Regions from separate parts of the Homo sapiens genome. Here region 1 is linked to region 2. Evidence: promoter capture Hi-C in human tissues and cell types (Jung and others, 2019). All regions are on one chromosome and are shown on one strand. Each heading gives the region's core, a stretch centred on a gene start or on the middle of the fragment in contact. The rest is flanking DNA. Distances are from core to core; before and after follow the strand shown. Region 1 overlaps FAXC (failed axon connections homolog, metaxin like GST domain containing). Region 2 holds the start of FAXC (failed axon connections homolog, metaxin like GST domain containing).

Region 1 (2,912 bases), core at 225-2,724, 51 kb before region 2:
ATGAGCAGAGCAGGGAGAACAATAGAGGACAAAGACACACAGTTGTCCAGGGAGAATGGAAGCAATATTGAGTCTGAGAAGAATGGCCAGAATCCAGGCCTGAAGACTTAGGCCAAATTGAGGGAACAAGCAAGCTGCAAAGCTGAAGCGAGCTGAACTTGATGAGCAAGGGAACCAAGAGAATAGGAGGGGACAAGCAGAGAGCCACATGCCCCTGAAAGTTCCAGTGGGGGAGGGGGTGCCATACGCAGCATAACTGAGGAAGTGCTCACAATCCTAGGCTGTTTGCTCACTGCCTGGCTCTGAGCCGCCCCCTTGGGGAGGATGTATGAGAGCTGACAGTGTGTGATGCTCTCCAGACCTGGGCAGGACAAACCGAGCTCTACCTCCTATGAATGGTCTACTTCAGTCAAACATGCAGGTGCTCATCCTATCCTCCCTGCCCCAAATAACTCCGGCTATCTAAGCCTGACCTTTCCATTAGGACTCAGACCAAGTCCTACCTCCTCCACTGCATGAAGGCTTCCCACACGGTCCCAGTCTACTGGAACCTCTCATTGTCCACGCCTCTGTTAAATCCCAGAGGGGCGAATTGCTTAGAGCGAGGCTACTGAGAGAGTAGTCTAGCAGCACCAGCAGCACCTGAGTGTTAGTTAGACATTCTTAGATCCCATCACTGAATCAGAATACTTGGGAATGGGACTAGAGAACCTGTGTTTAACAAGCTTTCGGGTCAGGGTTTCTCAAACTTTAGAGGTATTAAAATCACCAGGATAGTCTGCAGTTCTTGGACCAGACTGTGAATAGCACTGTTCCAGGTGATTCTTGTGCACACTGAAGCTTAAGAAGTACTGGGCTAGAGTATATCATTGGTCTTAAACTTGAGCATGTAGTATAATCACCTGGAAGGCTTTTTTTTTTTTTTCTTTTTTAGTGGAGATGAGACCTCGTTATGTTCCCCAGGATGGTTTTGAACTCCTGGGCTCAAGTGATCCTGCCGCCTTGTCCTCCAAAGTGCTGGGATTCCAGGCATACAGCACCACACCTGGCCTTGAAAGCTTTTTAAAAACACTAACTCAAGTCCCTGATCCCAGGAGTTTCTGATTCAGTAGGTACAGAGTGAGATCCAAGAATCTGCATTTCTAACAAGAGCCCAAGTAATGCTGATACTGCTGCTCCAGGGAGCACACTTTGAGAACCACTGGTCTAGCTCACACATTAGGTAAATCACACAGCCATCTTGCAGTCTTACCTACGTGTAGGTCCTATCTCCTCAAATAATTTTTAAGCACCTTGAGGGCAAGTAAACTTCTATTTTACTTTTCTGTCCATCTGGTACCTATCACATAGGAACCATCAATTAAGGTTATGATAGCCTTAATTATGTTTGATCTCTGTCCTTTCTCAAAATGGAGAGCTATAATAGTGATTAAAAAGTATAATAATGTGAAAGCATTTTGCAAGCTAGGAGGTGCTATTCTAACATAAGGAATTCTTTTATACTCATTTCCAACAATCAAAACAAGTAATGTGGACAGAACCAGTTCAACCTCTCTCCAAGTGTAGGAATCCCTTCTCACACTTTCCTACCAGATACTCCCCATCCCCAACCCCAACCCTGCTGAAACTTCTCTCCCATAATTTACTGGGTAGGGCAGACTATTCTGTGCTTAGATGGTTCCTTATACTGAAACAAAATGGTCTCCTTAGAACTTCCACCATGCATCTCAGTTCTTTCCTCTGGAATTCACAAAAAAAAATTATGGCCATATTTATTCTACCACAGCACCCATTCCTAGTCTCCACTAACATACTTCTAAGGAAAAACTGATCACCTGTTTTCATATATATCATTATGAGATGGTGGACAGAAAGTTTATTTCAGACCACTGGAAACACTACAGAAATGAACTTCTGAATCTCATCTCCTTCCTCCCTAATTCTTTTCCCACTTCCCACTGGTCACTGTCAGCTCCACTTCCACAATTTAGCTAAATTTCCAAACTCTATAAGTGACAAAAGAGACAAGACTGGCTGTGCTATAAAATATAAGTTCAAGGGAGAAACTAAAGAGAATAATCAAAAGATTTTCCAAGACTCATTTCCCTATGAGTCTAAGACATAAAGTACAATTGTGTGTTTTACATAGGGCTCCCTATACCTGAGCACTCATGTGATTTATAAGCAGGCAATTATAGTAAAATCAATGTGGACATTATTCATACTTCTAATTGTCCCTCTCTCACCTTTCATTAACTAGAAATTGAAGAAAAATTAAGAAACAAAGATTTTGAGTGCTTTTCCCAATGAAACAGGAGGTCACGGTAATCTCACTATCCAAGCATCAAAGAGCACACACTTAAATGCACACACTTAAAACTTTTTTTCTGCAAGTGAATCTCCCAGAGGGCAAAGCTACAGGAAAAATAAAATCTACTCCCTATTCTCTTACACTCCTGATCAGACCCCACTTTGTCAGAAATAATATGTAAGACAAGCCACTTCCTTCACAAAGCCCTTGTTTTCATACTACAAGCATACTCTAAAATCACTATATAGATTGTGATTAGCTCACGATCGCCAATTAGCTCACATTCTGGGAAAAAATAAAGGTGGGTGGAGAAAATACCAGAAGAAGCTCCTTAATTTAATCCCTCTTCAGATTTCATTCTAGAAAGCAACTAGATACTCCTTTAATTTTTAATAAGATTTTCTGAAAGAACACACAAAAATTTATCTCTTTCCGGCTCATATGAACTATCTCGACACCTTCCTCACTGGCCACCAATACCACCATCACTCTGTCTCTTTGCTGATGTCCCAGCTCTTATAATTCCTTATGGATGAAAGCAGGAAGGACATAAATCCCCGACTCTAAGCAAAGGGTTGTGTATCCTCCTCTGTACTTTGGT
Region 2 (2,702 bases), core at 189-2,688:
TCTTCCAGTGACGGAAGGCTCAAATGCATGGAAATTTTAACCATTAATTGATGTATCAATTAGCCAAACGACTGTCTCAGTGCCCTGTGGTATTACTCTACCCAAACAAAAATCTCGTCCCGGCTGGATGTACCAACAGCAGGGGCCTCCATTTTCTGGTATTTCCAACTCAATCTTGTAAACATTCTGCGGCAGCGGATGCAACTGTTTACGGCACTGGGCGACTCCGTGTTGTGCCCAACACACCCATGTGCTAGCCTGTCCTACTGCTCACACAACAATGACATCTAAGCCTGAAGATGGTGCTTGGCGTTCAATACCAGATAAGCAGAGAACCAGGTTAAGGCTGCATCAAAGCTGCCCACCACTACACTTGGTCATGCATCTTTAACAGGGACCCGCAGGTTTCTGGAGCTTTTGCAATTTTTCAGTCTTTTGATGTTGACATTTAGGGAAGAACTAACCTTTAGGTAAAAGATAAGGTTAGCAGTTAATATTCCAGCATTATTACTTATAAACAAGGCATTTCATAAAAGTGTAACCTATTTCTGCAGGGCCCAATTCTATTGTTGCAAACACACTGCACTTAGATCCTCCTAAGGCCATTTCTTAATAGATAACGACAAGTGACCCAGAGCATTTTGGGAGACAAATGTTTTTCCCTCCCAGCACCGGTTTAATTCTCCTTTCAACTCTAAACTGCCCCTCACGGCCAGGTGACCACAAATGCCTTTAGGGAAAGGTAATTGCAGGGCGCTTGGGCATCTGGGCAGCTTGACCGAGGGGCTGGCACGGGCCCCTCTCGCGCCAGCCCTGCCCTAGCCAGGTGCCCCTCTCTGCGCCCCTGTGCGGGGCCCTCTCTCCGGCTCACCTAATGACCAGGAGTTCGTGGAGCAGATACGCAGCTGCGGCCAGCAAAGCTCCCCCGGTCAAGTAAAGGGTTTTCTTCCACCAGGGATCGGAGCCCAGCCCTGCCATGATCCCACCGTAATCCTGCAAAGGGAAAGCGATGATGTCCCCATAAAAGGAGAAGGGCTCCTCGGACCCGGCCCACCAGCCGAAGAAGGAGATGCTCTGGTTCCAGCTCAGATCCACCACGCACGGCCTGGACGAAGCAAAGCCAACCCCCCAGTGCATGCTGCGCGGCTGGCTCCGGGCGCCCCTCCCAGGGCCCGCGCCGCCCGCATGGGAAGGGGCCGGCGCGGCCCGGCGCGGGCTCAGAGGCGCGCGGAGGGCGCGGGCGGCGCGGGCGGCGGCGACTGAGGAGGCGGCGGCGACTGAGGAGGCGGCGGCAGAGGAGGAGGAGGAGGAAGGGCACTGGCCGCGGACGGCGGGCCTGGCCGGCGGGGCCCCAGAGCCCTGGGCGGCAGCAGCGGCCGCCGGCTCCCCCCGCAGCTGCCTCTCCGCCCCGCTCTTTGTGTCGGCGCCTGGAGAAGGCCGCGTGATGTCATTGCTCCCCGGGGCAGGGAAACAGAGGCGGGATAAAGTCACCTACCCCGCGCCCTGCCCCCTCCCCGCATCTCCGCGGTCCGGCCGCCTCCGCCGGGGCCGGATCTGCAGGGCTGAGGCGCGCCGGGCAGGCTCCGCGCCTCCGGGCGGCACGCCCAAAAACCGCTCGCCGCGCGCGGGCAAGGGCGGCGGAGGTGCCTGGAAATGCGGCCCCACCGCGAGGAAGCTGCAGTCGGGGCCCGGATCCCGGTCCTCCCCTACCCCGGCCGGCCCTCCGCCTGCGCTCCAGCCCCTCCCGCGGGCCCCAGAGTAGGGAACGCGCAGGACTCACCTGGGGCGGCGCGGAGCTGCGGGCAGGAGACGCCACCAGGCGGGGGCTGGGAGCGTGGGCCAGGATTAAAGTCGGGAATCAGATTGTTCTGGCCATCAGGAAAGCGCTGCGTATTTGCATAATGTATAAAAACACTCTTATTACATTACACAATTACCTCGGGCTTGACCAGGTGTTCGCAGAGACGAGATGTCTGGTTTGGCAAATAACAAAATACTCTACCTAGAGAGATTTCTCTGACAAACCCAGTTCAAGTCTTTCCTCTTTGAAGTCACTATCAGGGAACTCGCTGATACAGGGTTTCGGTTGGGGGACGGGGGTCCCTCTTTTGTTTTAGAAAATCTGTCTAACAACTGTGTGTGTGTTCAGTGTATTTTTTTCCTTTAACTTCATTTATTAAAGTTCATAAGTACAAAGAATAGAAGCTTGTAATATATGCACAGATTTTAACAAGAGCATGGATAGTTTTAAATTGTTTGGAAGAACTGAAAAAGGATTCGGGCCGTGGAGGTTCATCACTCTCAAGGTGGAAGGATGGGTAAAAGAAACCTCCAGGCTCTTGCCTATGGAGCAGAGATTGAGGCGCAAAAGGACTCCCCCTTTTTTTCCTCTCCTGACACACCCGCCCCTTAGAACAGGCAAGGAGTGTGGTCGTCTTGTTAATAAATAATAAATATGGACGTGTCGCCTCAACGAGACGGGGGGAGGGGCTAGTCAGCTGATGCCTAGGCACCAGCATGTGAGACTCCCCAAACACTCCTGGGAAAATGTGACCTCCCAGGAAGAAGTAATGTGTGTGGTTCTAAGTGAGGCTCCCATAAGTAGGTTGCAAGGAGTGAAACCCAACGGCCTCCTGGGGTGACTGAGGTGGTCACCAGCCGGTCTTTCAAGGAGAGAGGCCAGAAGGCTGCCTGGCCTTGTC

What was found. The method cuts DNA at HindIII sites, captures the fragments that hold promoters and counts their contacts. A contact is called where the count stands out against the background at its distance.
Region 1: a contact is called between a fragment that was not itself captured here and the fragment with the promoter of FAXC in region 2, in 2 of the 25 tissues and cell types used here (adrenal gland and pancreas).

The regions. Positions count from the first base shown.
Region 1 is chr6:99,297,319-99,300,230 of GRCh38, forward strand. All of the region lies in intron 4 of FAXC (failed axon connections homolog, metaxin like GST domain containing), which reads right to left. Among named protein-coding and RNA genes, the nearest start is that of FAXC, 51 kb to the right of the region's middle. The HindIII fragment of the contact is 6,995 bases long and covers 1-2,912 here.
Region 2 is chr6:99,348,236-99,350,937 of GRCh38, forward strand. It overlaps FAXC (failed axon connections homolog, metaxin like GST domain containing), which reads right to left and starts at 1,439. Exons shown (of 6, transcript NM_032511.4): 1 at 872-1,439. The coding sequence starts at 1,137. RefSeq lists an enhancer at 1-277 and silencers at 1,469-1,528, 1,599-1,648, 1,709-1,788. The HindIII fragment of the contact is 6,681 bases long and covers 1-2,702 here.